Regions from separate parts of the Homo sapiens genome. Here region 2 is linked to region 1. Evidence: promoter capture Hi-C in 16 types of primary human blood cells and fetal thymus (Javierre and others, 2016). All regions are on one chromosome and are shown on one strand. Each heading gives the region's core, a stretch centred on a gene start or on the middle of the fragment in contact. The rest is flanking DNA. Distances are from core to core; before and after follow the strand shown. Region 1 holds the start of GSX2 (GS homeobox 2). Region 2 overlaps LOC124900702 (a long non-coding RNA gene).

Region 1 (5,663 bases), core at 652-3,151:
TGTCCATTCCAGAACTTCCAGGTTCGTTTCTTCTCCAGATGGGACCACTGCAATGAGCAAGGATTCTGGCCCCTGGGTGCCCCACGCCTTGGCGTTGCCTGGTCTGCCAGGAGCGGGGGATGTGAGGGAGGAGGCCCTCCCTCATAAGGGGGAAATCTCCTTGTCATCGTTGGCTGAGGCCGGCGACAGGGAGTCCTCATCCTCGGAGCGCGCGTAGTGCACCTGGCTCCCGACGCACTTGCAGCCCGCGTGACTGTTCCTCTGCGTGCCCTTCCCCTCCTTCTTGTGCTTCACTCGGCGGTTCTGAAACCAGATTTTCACCTGCTTCTCCGACAGGTTCAGGTAAGTGGCGATTTCAATCCTCCGGAGTCGAGACAGGTACATGTTGGAAGAGAATTCTCTCTCCAGCTCCAGGAGTTGCGTGCTAGTGAACGCCGTCCTCATCCTCTTGCCATTGGGTACCTGGCTGGCGTCAGAGCCTCCTGCGGACCGGCGAAGAGAGGGTAGAGAGGTAAGGCTCGGGCAAGGTGCTCCCACCCCATGTGCTAACCAGGACGCATTTCAGGGACCCACCCGGGGAAGCCCAGCCGAACATCTGTATCCCTTTCCCATTTCAAGGCACGTGGTTGCTTAGCGGGGAAGAAAAGAGACGTGCAAAGCAAATAAAGGTCTTCGATGCGCAGGATGCGAAGTCACAGGATTAAAGAGGGATGGGGGCTTGCACTATCTGATCGCCTCCCTTTGAGCCAAGCGGAGAAGCGCGCAGGCTTAGCCAAAAACGTCAAGACGCTTTAGCCGCCCCGACGCGGGGATGCCACACAGGTTCAAACACACCCACCCCAAATCCCAAGCAGTTAACCTCTGGTTTATCCGCCGTGACGTTCGAGGTCCCTAAGGCCCCAGTATTAATAAGGCAATACTCGAGCACCTACTACTAGGAGTAAAACGCACCAGGCTGAGTGGAGAAGCTGGCAAACTAACTTCCACTTTCGTGGAACTTCTGTGGCTGACTCTACGGTTACACTAAAAGCCCGTCCTCTCTCTTCACCCTGTCCCCGGGCTCCCACTTCCTCCACTGGAGGTGGAAAGTTTGCTCCAGGAGCGCGAAAGGCGCGGAGCGCAGGTGCCCCAAGACCCCGCCCTACCCATGGTGAGGCAGTGGAATCTCCGCGGGTCCGCCACGTTGTAGGTGGTGGCGGTGCAGACAGGTGCGTGGTGCTGCGGGTGCCCCAAGGCCGCCGCGGCCGCCGCCGCCGCTGCTGCTGCTGCCGCCGCCGCGGCCGAGCCAGGCTGCTGGGGCTGATGATGGTGATGGTGGTGCTGCGGCGGGTGGTGGTGATGATGCGCATGGTTCACCCGCGGGCAAAACTGCGCGTCCCCAGGAGCCGAAGAGAACTGGCCCTTAAGCAGAGGCAGTGCCCCTGCGGCCCCTGCCACCCCACTGCCTCCGGCCCCGGTAACCCCGGCCCCTGCGCCCCCGCTGCCGGCGCCCACAGACCCCCGAGAGGAGTGCAGGTGCGAAGTGACGCAGAGAGGGCACACGCAGAACGCGCCGCTCTTGCGGGACGGGCAGCCGGGGCCGGACACGGACATCACCAATGGGGGCGGCATGCCAAGCGGGATGAAGAAATCCGGCCCGGGGTGCGGTTCAGGCAGCGAGGGCGCAGGCCGTGAGGTGTCCTTGATGATGAGCGAGTCGACATAGAAGGAGCGCGACATGTCGAGAGGGGTGGGTGGCTGGAAGCCCCGGCAGTTCGCGGCGACCCCTCTCCTCTAGTGTTCTAAGCTCTGCCCTGGGAGCCGCGCAGACACGGGCAGTCAAGCCCTTGGGGACGCAGAGGTGTTGGCGTCTGGGCTGGGAACAAAGGGGTCCCCGGAGAGGGCTGGTCCTCACGTCCCCCGCCCGGCGCCCCGGCTCGGGTATTTTATAGCCCCCCACCCTGGCACGTGATGCTGCGGAGTACCGCTCGGCTCAGGCTCCTCGGCAGCTCCGCACCCTCGGGATAGGCTGCCCGAGTCACAACAGAAGCCGCGAGGAGGGGCGGGCGCGCGGCGGGGAAGAACTCGGGGGAGGGGGATGGGGGAGACTTTGCAAAGTGTAGGTTTTGTTAATTTCCCGGGGAGGCCGGCCTCCTCCCCCTCTTTCTCCACGCTTTACTGAGAAATCACAGCGCTGCATCCTCCATCCCACCCCCTCTCGCTACCCTGGCCGCAGCCCAACTCTTCCCCACGCCCCACCGCAAAGCGTACCAGGTGGGGACTTGGAGGCTTATTTAATAGGAATGCTCAGTGTTTCCAGCTCCTCTGTGGTAGGGGTGGCTGCGGCGCGGTGAAGTGTGAGGCCTGCGGTTTGGAGCAGGATTGTGCGGGCGACGGACTGGCAGTCGTCCAGTCCCTGAGCGCAGCTCTGGCCACGGTTACACCTACCCCTGTCCACAGCTTTTGGACTTGGCAGAGGTCATTCAGGTGGTTAGTTCAGGACTGTCCGGCGCAGAACTGTGAGGCCTCCCAGCTAAGAAACCGTCAAGCTTTTCATGCTGATGTTCGACAAGGTCTGAAGTGTCTTTGTACTTGGGGCCCTCCTGGGGCCACTCAGACCAACGACCCTTCCTTGTTTCCCTTTCTGATCGGCACCTCCCACTTCCGCAGAGAGAGAGAGATGTTGAAGAGTCACCCTTTTCTTTCTCCAAGTAGTAACACCATGGCATTCCAGGGCAATCCTACAAACTCCATCCTGAAGATTTTGGAGGGAGGACCTCAAACACCAAGCCCTCCTAAAGACGCAGCAGGGATTAGATAGACCTTCGCTCTGGGTCTGAGGATTTCCTGTCCCTCATTTTTACCAATCATGGGCAGCTTAGCAAGGCTAACCAGGAAGCACTCTTTCCTCTGCATCTTAAGAACCTAAAAAGGATGAAGAGGATTCAGCCATCCAGGGAATCTTGCCTCTGATTGGCAGAAGTGGCTTTGTAAGGGAACTCTCTCTGGTCCATGGAAGTCTTGCACACCCCTTACTGCCCGAGAGAGGGTGGCTGCCAAACTATTGGGACTATTTATCTTCGGAGAAGGCAAGGCAGCAGAGGTGGCCATTTTCTCTCTTCATTTCCCCCTGCAGAAAAGCGGGCTGGGGCCATGTGGTTGGGCAATAGTTAGAAGTCTGATCCTTTTTCCAGAGCAGCTAACTTCAATCCTGAGTTCATGATGGTGCTAAGAAACTTAGAGACAGGACTCCCTCCACCTGAGAGAACAAGGTGCCCAAATCCAGGAGAGCACTAGCTAGAGGCACGGCTCTATCTTTCCATCCTCTGTCTTCCCCTCTCCATCTCTGTGACAGTCTCTCTTGCCTGCTAGAGAAGTGTAATTGGGTTGTAGGGATGCCCGGCTCTGGGGAGCCCAGGATTTATGGATGGCAATTAAAGTTTTATGAATTGCAGCTGAGGCTGGTTATTGAGCTATTTGAATGTGATTAGAATTCAATTAGAAAGCGGTTAGTGGACGGTGGGTCTCTGGAGTGTAAACAGACAGCTATTCCAGAAATGTGCTAATCCAACATCTTGTGACAACAATTAAGGAGTCTCAGGGCTTAACATGGGGCAGCTCAGCTGTAACTACTTTTGTACCACAAGGTCTGCAGACGCTCAGGCTCACCCCAGCCCGCCCTTGTTCATGACTGGAGGATCTAGGCAATCCCCGAAATCATTTCAGCCCCAAGAAGAAGGCTTGGAGCCACTGATGGAGAATGGCAATAAAAAACATACCCTGCTGAATGGCAGGATATTTTTTACAGTCCTAAACTGTCCAAATAGATGACTCGATTCCCCCCATTCACTTTGCAACTATACAAGCATATATAGATATAGATACAGATACTCTTTAAGAATAATAGCTTTCTCTCTTTTCCTCCTCTGGGTTAGGTCCCAGGTTATCCACAGTCTGTTTTGGGCTGATGGTTTGAGTCACAATGTTCCCAGCAGTTTGGGATGTGTTCAGAGGAAGAGCTCCTATGCTAAAGTCCTAGAAATCGCACCCATGTGCAGACCATTTTACCTTAGAGAATCTTAACTATGCAAGAGGCTTGTGCATCTTATTCAATTTGTGTCTGACTGTGGAAACTTTCATTTTTCAGTGCCAAGGAGTTTTGAGAAATGTGAGGGGCTCATGGGGTTTCCTAAAGACTTCAAGGGGAGCAGTGGTTTCAGACCAGGCTGAGGCTGAAAGCAAGACCATGTCTGAAAAACTTGACCCTTAGGGTACTTGGTTAATTCCTTCAGCCCACCAAGAGCAAGTATACTGGAATCCCATTTCTTGCACAGTTTCTGTCCACTCTGACTCACTTCTCTAGTTCTCTTTGGATCTCTCAGTGTCTGCCAGTCTCTCTCCCTCCTTCTCTTCTGAGTCCAGCCCCTATCTGGCCCTACCTGCCTATCCCCTCCTCAAAGGAAGCCTACCCTCCATGCCCCCGGGGCAGCACTGCCCACCCCCCACCCCAGCCCTGCCCAGCCCTACTGTTCCCCAGAGTGCAGTGCCCTGAACCAGCAGGAGACCCCAAGTTCAGCTTTCTTTTCCTGAGAGGGAACAGACAGACCATTGGCGTGTGCCCATGGTGTCTGAGCCGCCACACAATTTTATTTCTCAGTGATTCTGTCCGATAAAATTTCATCGTCCATTAAGTAATCCCCAAAATGAGAGCTCTTATGAGCCTATAATGAGCTCTAATTGCCACAACTCCAGGAGCCACGTGGAAGGATTTATTCTGTATTAAGCAGTCGGGTACAGAGTACAGGCTGTTACCTAAGCCATTACTTTCATAATTCAAGGAGAAAATTAGTTCTTTTAAAGGAAAGGGGAAATCTTTTTATTATCTCCCTCTTGCTTGGGACAATAGAGTATGGTTTTGTCTTCCTTGAGTGCAAGACAGTGTCACATATGTGATGGTAACAAAATTGTTCTTTGTACCTCCTCCTGGCCAAGGCACTCCACCCTTACCCTCAACTTACAAAAAAAAAATCAAAGCTATTCTAGAAAGAACAGCAGAGGCATGGCCTTCTTGTCTCTCGATTCTCCAAGTTGAGCCTGGGTGAGCAGTTTCCTTTCAGCCCAACCCTGAGATTTGGATTCTCAGTTCTAGCTTCCAAAAGGTCTCCAGTACTTCTTCCCAGCTCTGGAATGGCACCTGACCTGAACCCCACATTCCTGTCTCACTTCTCTTTCTTCCTGTTTGCTTTCATGGGCAAAGTCAGGACAAGTAAAGGGCAGGGACTTAGCATTGCTTATTCAACAGGCCCCAGAGTTCTGACCCGTTCCTGTGCTTAGCTGTTTTTTTCAGGCTGTAACTCCCACTTTGCCCCTCCCTCTGTGTCCTCCAAACCTCCCCACCTCCCCCACCACCACTTTCATCCCCAGTCCTTTTTTCTCTTAGTTTCAGCATTTGCCCACATGGTTCTCCAGCTCCAAATGGAGGCTGCAGGCAGGGCGGGACAGCCGGGGAGTTGGCGGGGCCGCCTCGGATTTATTTGCTCCTCTTACATTGATTTCATATTAGTTTCCAAAGCGATGAATGATCTCAAAGCTGGGTTTTGTTAGCCGAACACAAACAGGAGACAGGACTTACTTGCCCCCAGCTCCCTTTAATGAGGTCATTATCAAAGCGTGAACAAGTCTAT
Region 2 (5,571 bases), core at 2,741-5,240, 200 kb after region 1:
AACAACTTATACATTTTTCATAGGCATAAACAGAAATTAAAAATTAATATGGGCTGGGTGCAGTGGCTCATGCCTGTAATCCCAGCACTTTGGGAGGACAAGGCGGTGGATCATCTATGGTCAGGAGTTTGAGACCAGCCTGGCCAACATGGTGAAACCCCATCTTTACTAAAACTACAAAAATTAGCCAGTCGTAGTGGCAGGTACCTGTAATCCAGCTACTCAGGAGGCTGAGGCAGGATAATCAGTTGCACCTGGGAGGCAGAGGTTGCGGTGAGCCGAGATCATGCCACTGCATGCCAGCCTGGGAAACAGAGCAAGAAAAATAAAATTAATATGACCTCCTTTCTTGGCTGACCTGAATCATACTTTGCAGTTATTTTTTTTCTTGTGAAAGTGAGTTTGTATTTGGAAGGTCTGCAGAGAACACCAGGGATGAAGAGGTAGAGGAGGGAATAACGTTAGTTAGGAGTACAGTTTAGAGTGCTGTTGGCTGTTTGCCCAAATGCAAATTATTTAATTTGATCTGAAAGCTTTAAATGTAATATTTGTGAGGATTCAGTCCATCAGTAAATCATCAGATATGTGTGTACATTTGCTGTGTACCCAACTAGGCATCAGGGCGTACATGACAATAGGGGAGATTGTGTTCTGGTTGGAAAAGGAAGAATTAATTTAAGAAAATAGTTTGGAGTCTGCTTCCTATAATTTTGTTCTTAAATTTTAACCTAGTGGCAGCAACTTTATGTCCTTTCTCTCCCAGGACAGTTCTAGGGACAAATATTTAGCTCCACTGTGCCTACCAGGGAATTGTATTTTATAGAACGTGTGCTTTGATTGGCAGCTTGAAAAACATGGTTAAAGTCGTGATCAGCACGAATGGAACAGTCAGGAAATGGGTCCCAGGGAACTTTTCCATTCCCACTACTCTTTGAAAAGCCCTGCAAAGATGCTATTGCAAATTTCTGTCTCATCAAACCGGGGATATTACCTTTATAAAAAGAATGCAAGGACTCATAATTCATGATATCCTCTCACCAACGATAGATCTCTAAATTATCAGGAGTAAAGTATATTTAAGAGTAAGAAAATATCTATCAAAGAAGAAAGTCAAGAAATGAATCTGTTTAGTTGTTTTCTTCCTGCTAAGAGCCTCTGATGGAGCATTTACACTGGCTTATGCTCATGTGTGTAGGATCGGCCAAATGCAAGTGGAAAATTATTAGCCAGGCAGTAGTCAGAATGCTCATCCATTCAAGAGCTTCCATTCAGATATATGGAGCTGAAATCTGAAACTAAGGGCTCTGTCCTAACTTTAGCAACTTAATTGCATAGAGCTCCACAGTGGCCTGATTAAGAATGGCTGGTGTCTTGAAATATTTTGAAAATACTGATACCAAAAGATTTTATTCTGAAAAATTATTATCCAATGAGGAAAACGAAAAGGAACCAGTTACAGAAAAGCCTACAGTCTCCGGGGATTGATGATAGAGCACATCATTGAAATGACTGCTATTTCAGAGAAAAGCAGTGCGGAGTTTACATGCTTTCCTTATAACATGAAATTTTAGTCCTTTGTCCAACACTGGGAAGTTAGAGGGAAGGAAACGTCTCTTTACTAACGAGAAAATGCACATTTGCTTCAAAACTATGGGGATGTTCTTTTTTTTTTTTAAACGGTATCCTTGTAAGTTTCTTTATTTGAAATGTGCATGAAATACCACATATGAATTTCTTGAATTTATGTAGTACTTGACTTGTCAAAGATCTTTCTCATGGGTAGGATTATTGGCAGTAAAGATAAGCTGTGGGAGAAAGGCCGGGGAAAAGTCAGTTGATGGTGTTAATTTATGAAGCAGAGTGGAAACAGAAACTAAAGGCTTATTTTCTCTCATTTGAGCAACAGGCTGGTGTTTGGCAAACTGTCCTGGGGGATATTTAGGTGAAGAAGGGCAGGCGTCGTGATCGAAGACTTATCTCCCTTCTTTTCATCTGCACACTTCTTCTCTGACCACAGTTTGAGCACTTTTCAATCACCAGCAGTCTCAGCAGGGCAAGGCTGCCACACGCTTGCTAATGGTATCCCAAACGCTGCATTTCTGGGGCTCATCCAGGAAGCACGGTGATAGACAAGCGAGTTACCGTATTTCCTCTGAAACTGCCTCCCTAAACATCAAATCAATCAGCATGGTTGGACTGCAGGCCACCACTATGTGCTGGCACTAACTATACCATGCTTCTAGGCCCTGCTTGATACTTCCAAAATAACGAAGGACACACAGGCACGCCTATAAAGCGTAATGACTGTTTAGTTGGCCTTTCCGTGGGAATATAGAATCTGCCAAACATAACTACTGATTTAGAGCTCGTCTAGGAATTCCTCCTAGCCCTGAGGTCTCAGTGTTTAGAGATATTTTCCATAAACTGGCTTAAGCCACTGCAGCATTGAATAAATAAATGCAAAGCACAAAGCTGCCAGTGTCTCTCTAGAAGAGTAGATTCTGTGCAGTGGGGTAACACAATGAGCTGTGCATGGAGCCTCTCAGAACGGTGAGTAGCGAACTTCCATCTGACAAAACAGATTTTCTAGTTTGACTTTGAACTTAAGTCAACAAAGATAGAAAAAGTGTGGAAAGTGTAGTCATTTAAAAAGAAGGTCCTGGTGACTATTTTGCTAACTGCAGAAGGCTCTTTACCAGAGTGTTAGCAGTTTATTTTTCAGAGCATTTCCTCAAGACAATGTGTATGAAAGCATTTTGTAATCAGTGGAGTACTTAAACGGCAATGACTATGCAGATACATTTCCAAACTCCTCAAAGTGAAAATGTGTTAGAACATCAGATAAGAGTGAACAAAAGCACAAAAGAGGCATTGCACATCCCTTATAGGCACACGAGACAGTGTGTTCCATTTTGAGAGATCTTATTAAGGAGATTGAAGAGGCTGGGATAATTTTGAATACGATTTCTACCCAGGCAGAGTCAGATGCAGAATTAAAGAAGATAAAGTAGGAGACTTTAGGAGAAATGTATACAGTTCTCATTACCATATACATCCTCTCTTCCTTTAGTCAGAACAACAGCTCTTTGAAATAAGGAAAAAAATAGTCTTGCTCAGCCAAGAGGAACCTGGAAGCTCCCCTTGGATGTTACTGCCCAGGCAAACCTGATGTTCTGTAGTGTGTTCACTAGGATTCCAGAAGCTGGCCAAGTAAGGATGAAGCATCACTGTTTTAGGGGGAGCCAAACTGTGGTGTCCATGGCTGTTCCCCTATGCATCAGTCATTAAGCTTGCCACCAGCTGCTGACATCTAAAGCTGAAAGGAGGGATGTCACGGTACAATAAAATGTATAAGCCAATAAACCTTTATTTGGTGATTGGTCATGCTCTTCTGTATCCTGCCTGGCCATAGCCTATTTTTATCACCAGACTCAAGGAGGGCCTTCACTCACAGAGCTTGTCCACAATAAAGGCTCATTCGTTCCAGGCATAAGCATTGCCCCTAGAGCAGCCTCTACCTTCTCTTAAATAAGAAGACCAAGGGAAACCCAACAACAATAGCAACAATAATAACAAAACAATTGAGGACTGGACACTCACGAGCAGCACCATTGGCTGGGAGACCTGGTCCAGGATAGGTTGGGTGCTGGTTCCCAGGAAGGTGTACTTTTCACTGGAGTCTCAGTTGCTGGAGAAACAATGCTGAAGGTTCTCTTTGGTGACCATGTTATGTTTTTTTGTCTATGGAAACTCAAGCCCCGTGTGGAGGGAGTGCAGAACTTTGAAAGAGCAGTTCAGTAGACACACTAGCCAGGTCCCAGCTTTTCTATAGAAGGATCCTCATTCCTTGCTCAGAGAGATGCTGCCTTGATCTGAGTCTTTATTACTGAGAGAGGAGAAACTGTGCTGTGATATCAGCTATTGTGGTCAAGTTCATAGAGAACTTCTATCTAATCCTCCAAACCTGCTCTTAAGGTGGGTGTTTCCCTCATGACCCCACAAATCTAACTTTGTGTCATAGAGCTTTGATTTTTGTTCCAGCCCTGACACTTTACAGACATGAGCAATCTTAAGCAAAATGAGTTTCGAGAAGGTTACATAATTTGCTTCTTCCAGGTAAAAGAGACAGCAGGTATAAAGGTCCTGAGGTAGGAATGGAATGGGCATGAATGAATGAGTGAAAGTGCCTTGAAATAATCTCTTCACCAGGTTGTTACGTTTTCTTTATTTATGTCTTCTTAGCAAGGATTTCTCTAATATCCATCATATCTCTATTCCATTCTCCTGATTTCATTTCTTCAGAACACTTATCTCTTTCAGAAATTATCGTATTTGCTTCCTTGTTATTGTCTTGTTAGCTGAAAAGTCAATTCCAAGACAGTAAAGGCCTTGATGGTTTTATTCAACTACAGTATTCTCAGCACCTCAATGCCTGATACAAACAGATACACATCCCAAACACCTTATCTGAAGCCCATCGGGGCCAAGTGTTTTGACAATTCAGAATTTAGGAATCTCAAATGGTGAGTATCACTAAGTTATATAACACCCCCACAGAGTTTGGGGCTGCATCCCATAATCAAACACATTTGCTTTTCTGCTGTGAAACATGCAAAATGTATCAATACAGTAGTGCCCTCTTATCCATGGGGGATCCAGTCCAAGACCACCAGTGGATGCCTGCAAGCTTGGGCAAGACCAAACCCTATGTAAACTCTTTCTTTCTCCCTCTTTCTTTCCTTTCTTTCTTTCTTTTCTTTTTTCTTTCTTTCTTTCTTTCTTTCTTTCTTTCTTTCTCTTTCCTTTCTTTCTTTTCTTTTTTCTTTCTTTCTCTCTTTCTCTCTCTCTCCCCTCCCCTCCCTTCCCCCCCCTCCTTCCCTCCCTCCTTCCTTTCTTCCTTCCTTCCCTCCTTCTGTTTAAGATAGAGTCTCGCTCTGTTACCCAGGTTGGAGTACAGTGGCACTATCGCAACTCATTGTAGCCTCAACCTCCCGGACTCAAGCGATCCTCCTACTTCAGCCTTCTGAGTAGCTGAGACTACAGGTGTGTACTGCCACATCAGGCTAATTTTGTTAATTTTTTGTAGAGACAGGATCTTCATATGTTGCCTAGGCTGGTCTTGAATTTCTGGACTTAAGCAGTCTTCCTGCCTTGGCCTCCCAAAGTGCTGGATTACAGGTGTGACCCACTACACCTGGCCTCATTGTGTTTTTTCTTATATAACCACACTGTATGGGGAAGGCAGCACATACAACATGGATATACTAAACAAAAGGATGATTCATTTCCCAGGTGGAACAGACTGGGACAGCGTGAGATTTCATCACACTTCTCTCAGAATGGCAAGCAATTAAAAACATAAATTTTTTAGTTCTGGATTTTTCCATTTAATATTTTTGGACTGTTGTTGACCATTGGTAACAGAAGCCTCGGAAAAAGAAACTATGGATGAGGGGAGAAGACTGTAGTCACAATTAAGGCAGATCATAAAGACTGGGGACTGCCATGCATCCGTTCCGGTGAGTTCAATGAGCTTGCTGCCAGCTTACAGAAAATCTTTTGGTTTTCAGA

What was found. The method cuts DNA at HindIII sites, captures the fragments that hold promoters and counts their contacts. A CHiCAGO score of 5 or more calls a contact.
Region 2: a fragment that was not itself captured here is called in contact with the fragment with the promoter of GSX2 in region 1 in 1 of 17 cell types (neutrophils); the score reaches 5.1 in neutrophils.

The regions. Positions count from the first base shown.
Region 1 is chr4:54,096,401-54,102,063 of GRCh38, reverse strand. GSX2 (GS homeobox 2) reads right to left here and starts at 1,901. Exons shown (of 2, transcript NM_133267.3): 1 at 1,146-1,901; 2 at 1-482. The coding sequence starts at 1,719. The coding sequence ends at 142. RefSeq lists enhancers at 1-474, 475-1,266, 1,267-2,057, 5,435-5,663. The HindIII fragment of the contact is 4,571 bases long and covers 1-2,530 here.
Region 2 is chr4:53,902,681-53,908,251 of GRCh38, reverse strand. The region is part of intron 1 of LOC124900702 (a long non-coding RNA gene); the gene reads right to left. Among named protein-coding and RNA genes, the nearest start is that of CHIC2, 160 kb to the left of the region's middle. The HindIII fragment of the contact is 1,398 bases long and covers 3,292-4,689 here.